2 separate regions of the Homo sapiens genome follow, and region 2 is linked to region 1. The links are contacts of gene promoters, found by promoter capture Hi-C in blood cells and fetal thymus (Javierre and others, 2016). All regions are on one chromosome and are shown on one strand. The core of a region is centred on a gene start or on the middle of the fragment in contact, and the rest is flanking DNA. Distances in the headings are between cores, read along the strand shown. Region 1 holds the start of NDNF (neuron derived neurotrophic factor). Region 2 has its middle 16 kb from the start of MAD2L1.

Region 1 (7,749 bases), core at 3,927-6,426:
AGCGAGCAGAGGGCTGGCATATAACAGGTGCTCAGCAAATGTTTATTAAGGGAATAAACACCCTCAGGAAGAATAAAAGGTGACTCAGACTTGATGTTTCAACTTTACATTGGCTAAGTGTGTAAGAGGTGTCAAATTACAGATAATCATTAATTTTTAAGAGACTTTAGAGAACTACTTCTTGAACTGTTTAAAGAAGAGACTGAAACTGAACCAACAGACAAAAGACTATCTGGTGCTAGTATGATCCGGGATGTGATACTGTTTTATCCAAGCTTCAAGATTTGCAGGATGGTTTCTATCGGTTCTGTTGTCCCAGCCCCCAATGTAGAGATGTCGACTATAACACTCTAGAAGTTTATGTATAGAAGGATCTATTTACATTTGTGTAAAATGAGAATTGTATTATACAATACAACTGAGGTGATGGCCAATCCATGGGCAGAATATTATCATAAGCTTCTGATGATCTTTCAACCTTCTTTCATGAGTGAGCCTAGTTCATATGACAGTCGTTCTTAGGGCCACTTGACAGTCTGAAAATTATTGTGGACCCCAAGGAGTTTTTGTTATATAGGTTATTTCTTTCAATAGTCAACCTATGAATTACAACAGAAATCTTTAAAATATTTATTAATTCATTTAAATAACTATAGTAAACCTACTGCACATTAAAGTAACATTATTTTCCAAAGAAATGTTTTACATTTTTGTTAATCTCTTTAATGTCTGGCTTAATAAAAGACAGTTGAATTCTCATATCATGTCTGTTTTCAATCTGTTGCAATTTATTTTGTTTGAAGTATATCTTCAAACAAAGGAAAATCCAATTTTTCACAGATATGTAGTTGGAAAATGAAGAAACATTTCAATAATCTTTTCAAACAATTCTGGATATTCTTCTTTAACGTGACACCATAACTCAACAAATGGTAGTTTCTTAAACCTTATAATTGCAGTATGGAATATGAAACCATATCAGTTAACTTTTCATACTGTGTTACATTAAAACCCGTTCGTCTATTTTGCATTTTGAATGGATCCTTATGCGTGATTTTAGATCATGATGCATTATTAGTCATTTGGAAAATACTTGTTCATTGAGCTATGCAGTTCTTCCAAATGTTGATATATGTCATTGTACGATATCTAAAACCACATTCATTTAAATGATCACGATCTTACTAGGAAAGACTTTAAGTACTGGGAAACTGTCAAGCTCATGGTGACAAAAACAAGTTTTAAAAATTCTAATTTTTTACTCAAAAGTTCAAGTTTTTCACTGGAAATAAATATTGCTGTTTGTTTGCCTTGAAATGACAGGCTGACTTCATTCATTTGTTAAAAAATTTTTTTAAAAAAGTGTTTGCTAAGTATCCAAGTCTGAGTAACCATAGTTTGTCTGTCAGTTGTTCTTTCAAGTAAAAATATGTCACATAAAAAAGCAGGTAGTTTAGCTCACAAATCAATTACATAAATGTCTTCGTTCAGGATAAACAACTGCACTTTAGTATGCCACAGAAGAGCTTTATTTGTGCCTCCCAGTTTGCCATACGGAATATTAAAAAGACATAGTCAAGAGTTGAAATTTAATAAAATAAGTATTTTTTACTGCTTCATCAAAGACATTCTTAAGCGAAACTCATATTTGGGGCAGTAAAAAATACAATAACTACCAGGATAGTTGGGTGCCACTGCTTTGAACATGCTAAGGTGCTAGCAGGTTTACCCACCATTGCTTTCGTATCATCAGTGCAAATGTCAACACAGTCAAAGAAGGCAAATTATGTCTTAGAATTAATATGAAACTAGCTTTGTCCTTGCAGACCTCCCCTGAAAGGATCTCAGAAACCCCCATGGGTCTACGAACCCCAGTTTGATGACTGCTGCCTTAAAACATAGGTTTCAACCAGTAGTTCTCCTAAATAGACTTAAATTCACTCTTGGTTTTATAATAGTTTTTGGCTTTTTCCTCCAATTGCATATTTAAGAATTGCCTGGTTTAAAAGTAAATGCAGATATAAATATGTAAATATCTTGCAAACACTTGAATATGTTATACTATCCAATCCTCACAAAACATCTGTAAGTCAACTATAATTTATTCCATTTTTATATTTGAAAAAAGCCACTGATGCTCAAAGAGGTTTTGTCCTACAGCAAATAATTTTCAGAGTCTAGAATTAAATATAAGCCTGTTTGGCTAAATAACATATGTTCTATCTAATATGGCACATTACCCAAGTCTCTCAAAACACTGAAGATAACTTACATATATATATAAATATAAATATATACAATGCCACTGGTTTTATCGGTGGCTTGTTTTTTTAGAAGACAGAGTATACTGATATATGCAAATCCTGATGTTCAAAACACAGATATTTTGATGAATTTTATGAAATTCACAGAGTCCTTACAGAACTTTCCTACAGACTCAGGTCTGTCATTAATTGCCTGAATTAATGATGTCTCTCTAACATCATTAGCACTCAGTTTCTTCCTAATGGCAATTTTAAATCAATACCCCAATCACTGGTTCATTTGAATTCCCAATCAACCCTGTGAAATGCATGGGGGTAGATAGTGTTGCCCCAATGTACCAAAGAGGGAAGTGATCCTCATATACATGCAGCATAAACTAAAATTGCATTGGTCAAGAATACCAAGACTTTTTGTAAATAAGAGCAGCAGCTTTTCAGTCTAGTTGTCTCCATCTGTCTGCCTCTTTCTACCCTGGTCACTAGCCCTGTCCTCCCTTGGCTTCATTGGTCCTACTCTGTTGCCCTTCTTCTCTGGTGTTCATCCCTTTCTTTTGCAGGGTCCTCTTCCTTCATCCATGTCTAAGACATTGGTGTCTGCCATGTCCCATCCTAAGTCTTCTCTTCCTGGCTGCCTTACTCCTCCCCCATGCTTGCCAGACACCTGAATGTATCCTTCCAGCTCCTGTCTACCCTCCTAGGAACTTTCCTTTTGGCTGCCTAAATGGCAGGGCACTCAGATGTCACAGAGGCACCCCCAACTCCACAAGTTTAAGACAGAACTCATTACATTCCTCCTAAAACTGCTCCTCTCTGTGTGTTTCTCTTGGCTAGTGGCACCATCCCTGCCTTAGCGCACCAGCCAGAAAACTGGGAGTCAGTCTAGACTCTCTTCTCTCCATTACCCTCTATGTCCAATCAATCACTAAGCCTTGTCTATTCTATTTCCTAAATATCTCTAGAGCTGTCCTAACCTCCCAAACAGCATTTCTGCTGCCTTGGTTCAGACCTAATTTTTCCTCTGGAAATAACCTCACTGTGATCTCTCTTCTATTTGTCTTGCACAGTGAAACCAGAGGAAACCTTCTAAAACACATTATCTAATAATACTTACAAACCTTAGAATCTGTCCTAGCTTAACACCTTTAACAGTTTCCCAACTACTCACCACCTCCAGGCAAGTTCTGGCTCCTTACACCCAGAGAGCCTTGTGTGGCTTGGCCTTGCTTACTTCACCTGCAGTCTAGCCGCACCTAGTCTCCTAGTTTCCAGGACACACCATGTACTTTGACACTTTCCTAACCTCTTCACTTGCTTCTGTTTGTGGAATGCCCTCCCCCCTCCACCACATCCTTGTTGGCCTTGTATTTCTTCCTTGTCTTTCAGAACTCTACACTGAAATCTCTACCAAGAGAAGCTTCTGAAGGGGAGTTAGCTGTTTCCTTTTCCATGCTTCCACAGGACCAGGTACCTGCACTTATTATAGTGCTAATCACATTTTCATTTATGCCTCTGTCTCCTCACCAGGCGGTGAGTTCCTTAAAGGCAGCACCATCACCTCTAAATCTCAGCACATAAGACATACCTGGTACACAGCAGGGACTTCGTAAGCTTTGTTAATGAATGACCCAGGGATCTGCTCTAGATCGTATCTCCTAAGTGGAGATACAATGAGGACTTTTCTCACCTCATTGTCTCATCTGCAAAAAATATGCTTGCACAGTGATCTGAAATGTCCTTTTCAGTGTTTAAAAATTTTACAAAACTATTTTATGTCGTGTAAACGGTTTTATAAATCCATTTCCTGCAGTGTTTTCATCTAGGAACCACAAAACTTTAGGAGCTGCATTGGTCCACCCTCTGTGACCAACTGTTTAGCAAAAAAGATCATAGTTCTTAATATGACCGGGATAAGGCTGATTTTCATCCTACCTACCTTAATTTCATTGTGGCAATAACAGAACTAGTGTTTTCAATACTGACACTATATCTTAATAAATAATTATATATTATTAGAACTTATATAAAACCAGGTTTGCTGGAAATCAGGTTCTCAGTTGCAAAAATGAGATCACCAAATCATTCGGTACTTTTTTTTTCTTGGTTTTCCTAAGCCCAGGCCAGGTTGCTAATTAGGTAACTTTTTATCATAATTACCTAGTCAGCCTTAATGGCTTCACACACTCTGCTCCGTTTCACTGGTCCTGTAGGGCCGCTTTTTCAATTGTTAAAACAGCTGCTGAGTTTCAAATCGGAGGAGGCTCGGTCTGCGCCGAGGGGGAAGCGCTCCCTGAGTGAAGGCTGTGATAGGCAGGCGTTCGGGTGAAAAGTGGGACATGAATGCACAGTTTGCACACTCTGCTTTCCGCCTCCAACCACCAACCTTCTGGATTTAACACGTCCCCCTCCCTGCCCCCAGATCAACCCCAGAGTTTCCCTCTATTGTGCACCCCGGTCTGCTTGACAGTGTGATGGTCCCGCGTGCGCGTCTCCTGGGTTTTGCAGCTTTGTCGGGGGCTCGGTGGGCCTCCTTCATTCTCCCCGAGTGGCGCTAAGGTTAGGACAGCAGCGTGTCCCTCGCGATGCCGCCCGCGAGGGTCCTGTTTGGGGAGCGCTGGGTCGCTGAGCAGGGTGGTGTGTGTGTGAGAGAAAGAGAGGGAGGGAGGGCTACAGGGAGAGAGAAAAGGAGGGAGAGGGTGTCTGTGTGTGAGTGTGTGTATGTGTATGAGTGTGTGTGTGTGTGTGTGTGTGTGCGTGCGCGCTGGCGCGCAGCGGGAGGGAGAGAAGGAGGGACGGAGGGGGAGGCAACGGGCAGAGGAGGGAGGGGGCGGGCGGGCAGCGGTGAGGCGGGAGGGGTTAGGGCTGGGAGGGGAAGAGACTCCGGGCTTCAGCAGTGACACTCGGGAGCGAACACACACTCCCCACTTCCAGCCGCGAGAGAGTGGAGCTAACTGAGCAGCGCACCCGCCACGGCCGCTGCCGCCCCGTGCGCCCGGCTCTCCCAGCACCCCGCGCGGCGCTCCAGCCAGGCGCCTGTGCGACTAGCGGCGGCCGGCGAAGCCCGCGCCAGCCCCGCGGGTCGCTGCGGCATCCTCCCGCCGCCCAGCCCCCGCACGCTCCCTGCAGTTTAAAAGGACCTCCCGCCGCTTCTCGGCGCTGCCCCGGGATTCCCCAGCCCCGCGCGGCTCCCTACTCCACTTCGCAGCAACTTCGGCGACCGCGCGCCGCCCGCCCTCGCCCGCCTTTGAAGTTTGCTGTGCCGACCGCAAAGTTGGGACACTTCAGCGGATTGAATTTTTCTCTTTTATCTGCCTCCGTCCCCGCCCTCCAGGCTTCTCGTTCCTGGATATTGGTGCTTAGCATCTTGGCAGGGTCCGGGGACGTGGACTATTTCGCACACCACACCACGGGGAGGGATTTTTTTCTATTTTCCCTACGAAAAACAGATCTTTTTAAGGTAAGTGGGGAGAGGAAAGCAATGCCCCAGAGACCCGACGCCTTAGCCCGCCACCCTGAGACCTAGCACAAGGAGCGTTCACGCCCGAAGGGTCATCCGAGATGGGGGCTCGAGGCACGCGCCCCCAAATCTTCAAGGCCCAAGAAGCTTCTCAAGGGCGCCCTATCCGTAGGAGCTGAGGGCATGAGGGGCAGGAGCAGGTTTCCCTCGTTTTTTTTTTTTTATTGTTGTTGTTGTTTGTTTGTTTGTTTGTTTTTAATTTAGCTGCTTTCGAAGCTGGGCGGCCCGGAGAGATGTGAGGAGGTGGACAGACAGCGCAAGGGCGGGGAAGACCTGGGACCCGGGAGCTCGGGGTGCAGTGGGGTCTGGGGAGCCGCGGAGCCTTTATCCCGGACTTAGCCTGGACACTTACTTTGCCCGCCTGCCAAGAGGGCTGTTGCCTCCCTTTCCAGGTTCATGCCCTCCGCCCGCCGCTAGGGAAAGTCTGCGGGACTGGGGTTTTGCAGAGGGCGTCTGCGTGTAGGGCGAAAAGCTAGAGGTCCAGGCAGCGCACGAGTTCTTGGTGGGCGTCTGGGAGCTGCGCAGCCGGGGCCGGGAGTTCGGTTGGCCCGACCCCCAACCGCTCTGGCTCCTCATTTGTCCTCTGCGTGGTAGGCGAGCATCGTTATAGAAACTTCCTTGGGCTGAGCGAGGTGGCCTGGGACCGGCTCATACTTTCTTCCGGAGAGCAGAGCGGCCACCGAGGTGACGCCCCCTACGGCCCCAGCCAGGAGACTCGGCTTCGTGCCCTCGTCCTGTCTGTGCGTGAGTTGGGGTTCGCTCTCACCCGCGCTACCTTTCTAACTGAGCGGAGTCGCCGCGGCCCCGATAACCTAGGAGTCCGAACGAGTGATTGCAGGTCCCAGCTGTTTTCTTGGAGGCACTTTGCAAACTGCTGAATTTGGAGTGCGGTTTCGTTGCATTGTGCGCTCTCGGTTCACCTTTCTGCCCGCACCCTATCCCAGGCCCAGGCGTGAGAGCTCCCGGCAGTTCCCCGGACCCGCCCCGCATCAGCTCCTCGGAGTTTGCCGCGGGCACCTCTACGCTGTCTCTGAGCTGTCCCTCCGGCCAAGTTGCGGTTCCCCTCCTGGCCCCCTTCGGGGCGCTGTCCATTTCTTGCTCTTGGGTACGGGTGGCTCCCTAAAACCAAGACCTTGAGCGGGAAATGAACCTGAGTGTATGTCTGGGTTTTGTTGTTGTTGTTATGTTTTTTCCTTCTTTTCTTTAAATTTATTTACAGAGTTCTTTTTAGCAACTTTGTTGGGTTGATAAATTTGCTTCTCATCTGTCGATCCCGCTAAATCACAAAGAAGAGTTTATTTTTTCATTTAGTTGCTGCTTTCCCCAAACACACTACCCTCTCTTTCCCCCCTCCACCCCTCCTCCTGCTGCCTCGCTTCCTGAACCCTTTTTCTTTTCTGACGGAGGGAATCTCCGCACCTCCTCCTCTCCTCCTCCCACCCGGTCCCTGAGCGCCTGTGAGAACCAGGGGAGTCATCAATGGAAATAAATAGGACTCCGCTCCATTCTCCGCCCCCTTCAAACAAGTAAAATCCTCCCTGGGTTCGGAGAAGTAGAGATAAAACATCCCTCCCAAGGGAGCGGTTGCAGGGGATTTGATGGGATTGAATTGTTTTATTATCTTGAAAGAAGTGATGGATGGATCCGAGAGGGAATATGTATATAAAGCAGAGTGTAGTGAGGGCGATCGGTATGATTATTCATTATTGTTTGTTAAGAGTGATAATAAGGCCGCAACCTTCGCTCAGACTGTGTTTATACTGGGGTTTGAGTTTATGTCAGTCTCTTATTACAGTGGTTTCAGAAAGTGAAAACACCAAAACCGTATTAATTCTTCAGTCATTCTGCATATGGGATTAATCAAATGTCAAAAAAGATACTGTCGTTTTACCACAGTTTTAATCTATGATCTTTTAGAAGGTTGCACTCTTATAAAATGTCATTTGCCTCCATCTGTCTTCTTAAAGTTTA
Region 2 (7,749 bases), core at 3,732-6,231, 1.0 Mb after region 1:
TGGGCCACAAGCTGTGGTCTTAGAAACTGATGATGGGACATGGGGAGAGCCATGAGATAAAGGAAATTAAGTCTGAGTTCCAAATGAGGAGTCCTCTGGAGCAAGGAACAGCCCCCAAACCTCAATTTAGGGCTGTGAGGGAGAAGAGGGTGGGGAGAGAAGGACTGCATCCAAAATGGAAATTCTACAACTCCGCTGATGCCTCCATCGCCCCAGAGGAGACCCATAAAGCAAAACCATGAAGAAACACTGGGGAGTCTGAATCCTTTATAGAACATCTTTAGCTCAGTTTGTGGGCAGGGAAGGGATCAGTCTTCAAATTCATTCATTACATGCATTATCTCAATCCTTGCAACAACCCTGTGAGAATTGATATCCCCACTTTATAGATTTAAGAACTAAGATTCAGGAAGGTTAAGTAATTTGCCCAACTGCAAACATCCAGAATCCATGTGCTGGCCCAATTCCCAAACCAATAGGAACCAAATCCTTTTATTATATCTTGTTTCCTCTCAGAGTCTAGGGGACAGAGGAGGGTTCTCCTGCTCCAGACTTAGCTACAAAAAGACTAGAATACCGTGTGAATCTCACTCCAAATTGAGGAAGTAAGAACTTGTAGTCAAAATATTTGAATATTGCATTAACTTTTCATAATACTGCCATTAAATGTTCACACAGGGCATTTTGCTTTAAAACAGGAGCATTCATTTTCTTTCCAGCAACATTTCTTCTCTAATTCTTTCACTTGTTTTTGTAACCAAAGGTGTGTTGGAATTTGTGTTTAACATGTAATCCTGATCCTTCTACTTTGTGAGTTTTAACCAACTTGAGACATAGATGCAGGAAACAGAAGAAGATTGAAATTTATTATATGTATTATTACCCAAATTACAGCACTCTATAGTAAAGCTGGATTGGAGAATGAGCCTTACACTTAAGTCAGAAATAGGGTTTGCTACTCCTTCTTAAGTGAACCAAGCAGCCTGTGTAGTCACAGGTGGAAGGGCCAGACAACTTCATTCTTCCTTCTCCAGCCCAACTCCAACCTAGGAGGAAGCCTTGCATGCTGAATTGCCAAGGGCAAAATTAGAAAGCACTGTACTCGAGCTGCTACAAGCCATGGAAAAATTTCTTCTTTGCTGCTTGGGATGGGCTGAGAGAAAAAGTGGAGAGAGGGCCCCAGAACGTTACTCCAGTGCTGTTTTCTGTCATCAGGATTGGAACAGAAACCCTAAGAGTGGAGTAACAAGCATCCCTCCTGCTATTTGCCAGCTTTTTCATCTCTTGGTATATTACAGTGTGTGTTCCACTGGCATTATGTAAGTTGATTTTAGGTAGCATGATGACAGGCATTTTTTTAAAAAGTTTTAGTAATATATATGTTGTAATCAGAAAAATATGTAACATTGTTTATCATGAGTAAAAAATTGAGCGAAAGATTTTAAAAGTATACACAATATTTAAGGAAAAATATTATATCAGTATTAGTGTGAGCGATATGCAGACACGAAGGCCACATATGAAGGAAGGCTGGGAAACAATGTCATAACCCACTGGACTTAAGCAACTTGGAAGTAAGCCAGGGTGGGCTGTTCCTCTCAGCAGGGAAGTTGCTTGCTCACAGGGCCGTCATGTTCTCACTTTCCTAAACCCTCCTTCTTTCCACACTAATTCCCTCCAGAGCTGCCAATGGGCATTTCGCTTTTTGCCAACAAAAGTCTCTAGCAACATGAGTCAGACAGAACTGCATGCAGCACCCTAAGCAGAAAATGTATTCCCCATTCTATTTCCTATTACTGATTATGCTCAGTCATGTTGTCCAGAATTAATGAATGTATTCATTTTATATTCATGTATACATTCATGAATGTATTCATGAATGCCAAGACCAGATCAACAACATAAAAATATTCTAAAGTTGAACAATATGAAACTCTTCTCATTTTTTAACCCTCCAGACTAAATTCCCTTGCAAATGAAAAGCCCATAGAAATTAAGGTCAAATTCCTTCATTCCCAATTCTATACAATTGGCTCATTCTCAGCCAGAGGGTCTTACACTGATCTCTGGGTTCCTATAAGTTCAGCTATAACCTGGGCCGTCTTTCATAGGAATGGTTACAGCTTCTTCAGTCTTTTCAAAATTAATTCAAATTTCTAAGTAATTCAGCTCTCCAAGGGGTAACTAATCACAAAAGAAACTGTGGCTCCACTATGTAAGTTATTACAAGCAAAATTATGGTCCCCAAATTAAGTGAATGGTGTAATCTTTTTTGACACGGTTGTCGCCACCCAAAGAGCATGGCAGATAACTTAATGGTACCTGTGTTGTAGACAGAAGGACCTGAAAACAGCTGGGTTTCTGTTCCAGGGAGGGCCAGCCAGCGGTGCCAGTGTCAAGAGTTCACAGGCTGTAAATCTATATACACTGAGCAGAAACTGCCCATCAACAATTATGCTTCCACATGTTTAGTGTGTGTGTGTGTATGTGTGTGTGTGGTGGTGGTGGTGGTAGGTGTAGTGGCAATGCTTCTGGCAAACTCCCCATGTATATTACCTACTTTCTCAGTGAATGACATTTGAGACATTATTCCTTCTTAGAAAATTTAGATGTTTTGATTTCTTCATGTCTTGCATTTCATGCTTTTAGCACTTCAGTGCAAGACTGTGATTAGTCTAGATTAAACCTCTATTCCCAAATATCTTCAGGTGCGTTCTCTCTAGGAGCGTGAAGTCTCTCCTTTGTGGAAACATGAGGAATGGAGTAGTGACCATCACTCTACTCCCTTAGCACTATTTTAACTTAATAATATATCATATTGTATTTATTCAGATAATAGTAATTGTCACCACTATTCCATATGCTTTTCATTCCTACCTGGGCAGGTCAGGTTGGTCCCAGCTGACCAATAGTTAACCATAGTCAAAATTAAAAAAAAAAAAAAAAGAAGTTAAAACTCAAGGATCACAGAAAGAGCCAGGGAGTCAAGCTTACTCTTCTCAAGAAATAAGAGAATGATGTCAAAGTTTAGCAAAGCTTTAAGGAGATTCTAGATCTGATGGACTGAAATAGTCAAAAGTTAGTATTCCAAAGAATTAGGCCCCTGTAAAGACAGAACACAGTAAATTGAAAGAAGACCCCAGAAACCCTGAACTTCAGGGCAGGTACTTTTTCTGTTGCCCTTTAATTTCTTCCTGTCTCAATTGGACCTAACCATGAGTATGAGGAGAGTGACTGCAGCTGGGGAAAGAAATAGTGCCAAGAGCTGCAGCTGCAGAAAGTTTTGTTTTCATTTTTTTAACTTTTATAGTGTAAAATTAATATGCTCATAAGTTAATAAAATCAAACAGTACAGAATGGTACCAAGTGAAGAGTAAATTATCCACCTGTCTTCATTCCCCCACTCCCCACGTCTAATCTAGCTCCTTATTTTCAAACATGTTTTGTTCTGTTAGTGGTTATCACCATACCTTTAAGCATATGTTAATATTACTATTTTTTTTGTTGTTGTTTTTCAACTTTAGGTCACATCTATTGAAAGATGAGAAACTTAGTTCGTATTTCTTTATCCATCTACTCCTGAGTTTTTCTAGTCATATTATTTTCTTCTGGTGGTTATCTTTATAATTTTAAAGAATATGTTCAAGCTCTATATTTTGTTACATCAATTTTAGTATGTTGATTCCTTGCTATAGAAGGTACAAGAATTTGTGTCTGACATTGCTGGCCACATCTCTCTGCTACCTTAACATTCAGACTTTTGTGTTTTTTCCATTATCAATTTTAATACTAGTTAGATTCTCTTTTATAGTTATTATTGTCTTCCAGTTTCGTTGATTTGTTGACTCTACAAATTGAAATAGCATTTTCATTATCCTGATTATTGAATTACCCCTTATTGATTGATCAAATAGCATGAGTCTACCTATTAAGGGGAGAAAATGTAATCTAGTTCATTAATACTGAACGATGAATGTTCCAAGTGACAAGATAGAAAAGGAGTCCATAAACTCAATCTTCAAGCCTTCTTATGAAATTATTCATTTAGCCTATATCTTTAATATCCAAGAAATTAAACATAAAACATAAACATTTTTTACTGTGCTTGATTCTAGCCACCCATTCATTTGCTTCTTAACTATGAAGATGTTAATATTTGTTGAAAGATCAATTTTTCTTCTGTTCTCTTAATTACCTACTTTCTTCAGGAGTCACCTAGTATATCTGCTCCACTTGGACGTTCTCATTTTTGCTGTTTATTTCTTCTAAATTTTGTGAGTTTTAAAAATCTATGTGAATGATGGAAAAAAGGTGATCAATACTGGTAGCATGGTTTTCTACTGTGATACTAGGACTTTCCCTTTAATAAAAAGACAGATGCCATGGCTTGTGTACACAGAAGCTAGGAGTATGATTTAGGGTACATTTACATATTTTGTTCATCATGTATTTTTTACAGTTATTTTGACTTTTAAAACTATTGCATTAAAATATTATTTATCTAATTTAGTTAGTTTGGGGGCTCACCCTCAAAATTTTGTGTTCCAGGCTTCGTTCTTCTCACTGTAGTACCTGCCTTGAGACAGGGCCTGAAAGAGTAACCATCATTTCCAGTTATGGTCAGCAGAGGGCAGCAAAGGGCAGTGGAGTACGTGCTTGCTCTCAGGGCCTGGGCATCCTTCACTTTGTGGAGGCAAAAATCAGGAACTGGGAAGTAGAGGTCCAGATGGCCAGAATTAGAAGCGAAACTACTCACAGTGGCAGTGACCCAGGATAGAGACCAGGCTAAGCAGGGAGTGAAAAGGTTTAGTCAAAAGGGAGCCACAATTCGCAGCCCGGTATCTGCCATAGAGATGTGAGCAAGTAGACCTCAGGAGGTGAATCATCACTTGAGTTCTTTCGCAGTCCTGACTGCGACTCCCAGCGTCTCTCAAGCCCGCGGTGTGGCTCCTTAAAGTCTCAGGCATCGACTATCAACTGTGGAAGAGAATGAAAACTTCCTGTCTGAGAGTTGGTAACATGCTGCCAAGTGCTTAGGGGTTCCAGAACCAGCCATTTTGGGGAGGAGAGATTGAGTGGAGTATGAGCACCGAATACAAACGCTGAAGGATGATGACGATATTCGCATGTACATGCCAGCTAAATAATTTAGGAGCCTGCCTAAATGCGATGTGCTTTAAAATATAGTCCTGCCCCCCGAGCCAACACACATCTGGGAGGAAACAATGTTTCGTTGTGGAAACACCATGTGACTTTGGAATCAGACACACTGGACTCTCTGAATTGTTCGGTATGTGGCTCTTGGTTACTTAACTGATGGAGCCTCAGTTTCTCCATCTGTAAAAATGAAAATTCTTATCTCATAAGGCTACTTCGAGGAAATGCAAATGATGTACATGAACTACCTGGCAAAGAGCTTGGCCACCTGTAGTTGCTCGATTGACTTTACTACCTTTTCTCTCTGCCTTCCCTTTGGTCATGGAAGAATATCTGTAATATTGCTTGCTATTTTGAAATGTAAAGTCTTCCCATAAGCATAATTGACATTAGCTGAGAGATTGCTATGTTGGGTACCATAGAAAGTTTTCTATGGTATTATTTAAAATTCATAACAACCCTATGAGGTAACTTATCATCATCTCTGTCTTGCAGATGAGGACATGGAGGCTTTAATAGTATAACTGGTTTTCCCAGTGTCACATAGGTAGTGAGTAATGATCAGGGGTTCAAAACCAGGTAGTAGTTTGATTCCAGAGCTCATGCTCTTAACAGTATACAACCTCCTTTTCTATACAGACATTTTATCATCGATTAAAAATTTTAAGAGAAAAAATAGAATTAAGAAAATAGAAAAGAAAGAGGGAGAAAGAGAGAGAGGGAGAAAGAGAGAGAAAGAGAGAAAGAGGAAATAGTGTAGTTTTGTCTTTGTGATGTGCTTAAATGTTGGTATTACTGGCATAGCATCACCTTGTACTATCTCTTCTATGTGATTTTTAGGGTGAAAATTCAGTTTAAAGAAATAAATGAGAGACTGCTATGGACTGAATTGTGTCCCCCTAAATTCATATATTGACGCCCTCACCTCTCTCTCTCCCTGCCATGTAAAAATATAGTTAAAAAGTGGCTGTCTACAAGCCAGAAAGAGAGCCCCTACCAGAAACTGAAAATGCCAGCACCTTGATCTTGGACTTTAAACCTCCTGTGAGAAATAATTTTTTTCTGTGAGAAATAAACTTTTGTTGTTTAAGTAACCCAGTCTATGGGATTTGGTTATGGTGGCTTGAGCTGACTGAGACACAGACTCTGTCACTGTTATTCTATTAAGAGCTCATCTATCAAATTAAAATAAATAACAAGAATAATTTTTATTGGCTTTTTTCTCATTTTTTTCTAGTTTTTTAAATTGTTTTTTACATAACATAAATTTGCCATCATATTATTTTAAGTGTACAATCAGTAGTATTAAATACATTCATAATGTTGGGCAACCATCACCACCATCCATCTCCATAACCTTTTTCATCTTGTAAAATGGAAATGCTATTACCATTAAACAATAACCCCTCATTCTCCCCTCCCTCCAGCCCCTGGTAACCACCATGCTTCTTTTTGTAATCATAATTTTGTCTGATAGATATAGCTGATTCATGTGTTGTTTAAGTTCACTATTTCCTACCTATTTTTTGTCTGGTTGTCCTATTCATTATTGACAGTGGGATATTAAAATCTCCAACTATTATTGTAGAACTGATTATTTATCCATGCAATTTTCAGTTTTTGCTTTATGTATTTTAATTGACTGTTTTTAGATGCATGCATGTTTATACTTGTTATAACTTCTGCTGGGTTGAACCCTCTAAGTGTGCAATGTCCTTCTTTGTCTCCTCCTTTGTCTCTTGTTCTTGTCTTTTCTGATTTAAAGCTTTTTTAAAAAAATATTTGTATAGCCATCTCTTCTCGCTTCTGGTTACTGTTTGCATGGAACATCTTTTTTTCATTCTTTCACATTCCATCTATTTGTGCCTTTGGATCTAAAGTGAATCTCAATGTCAGGCGCAGTAGTATATGCCTGTAGTGATAGCAACCCGGGAGGCTGAAGCAGGAGGACCATTTGAGCCCAGGAGTTCGAGTCCAGCCTGGGCAACATAGTGAGATCCCATATCTCATAAAAAATTTCAAAATTAAAAAAAAATAAAGTGAGCCTCCTGCACGTAACATATATTTGGATTATGGTTTTTAATCCATTTGGCCAATCCTTTAATTGGAGTGTTTAATGCATTTACATTTAAAGTAATTACTAACAACAAAGGGACTTCTAACAGTTTGCTACTTGTTTTCTATATGGTTTGTAGTTTTTTGTCAATAATTTTCTGCATTACTGTCTTCTTTTGTGTTCACTTGATATTTTATATTAAAACGTTTACATTTCTTTCTCATTTCCATTTTTACATATTTTATAGCGATTTTTCTTTGTGGCTACCATGGGGATTACATCTGACATCCTAAAGTTATGCCAATCTAATTGGAATTTTTACCAGCTTCACCTCAATAACATCCACCTCTGTGCTCCCTTACAGGTTCGTCCCTACTCCTTTTGGTTGATGTCTTAAAATCATATTTGTATACACTGTGTGCCCCAAAACATAAACTAATACAGGCATACCTTGTTTTGTTGTGCGTTTTATCACACACACAGATACTGCATTTTTCACAAATCAAAGCTTTGTGGGAACCCTGCATAGAGCAAAT

The links. Contacts are between HindIII fragments. The CHiCAGO score rates a contact against its expected background, and 5 or more counts as called.
Region 2: a fragment that was not itself captured here is called in contact with the fragment with the promoter of NDNF in region 1 in 1 of 17 cell types (monocytes); the score reaches 5.3 in monocytes.

What each region holds. Positions count from the first base shown.
Region 1 is chr4:121,069,962-121,077,710 of GRCh38, reverse strand. NDNF (neuron derived neurotrophic factor) reads left to right here and starts at 5,176. Exons shown (of 4, transcript NM_024574.4): 1 at 5,176-5,718. It overlaps NDNF-AS1 (NDNF antisense RNA 1), which reads right to left and starts at 6,349. Exons shown (of 3, transcript NR_187407.1): 1 at 6,131-6,349; 2 at 3,847-3,961. The HindIII fragment of the contact is 1,993 bases long and covers 3,875-5,867 here.
Region 2 is chr4:120,046,949-120,054,697 of GRCh38, reverse strand. No RefSeq gene overlaps it. Among named protein-coding and RNA genes, the nearest start is that of MAD2L1, 16 kb to the left of the region's middle. RefSeq lists an enhancer at 4,620-4,999. The HindIII fragment of the contact is 3,886 bases long and covers 3,039-6,924 here.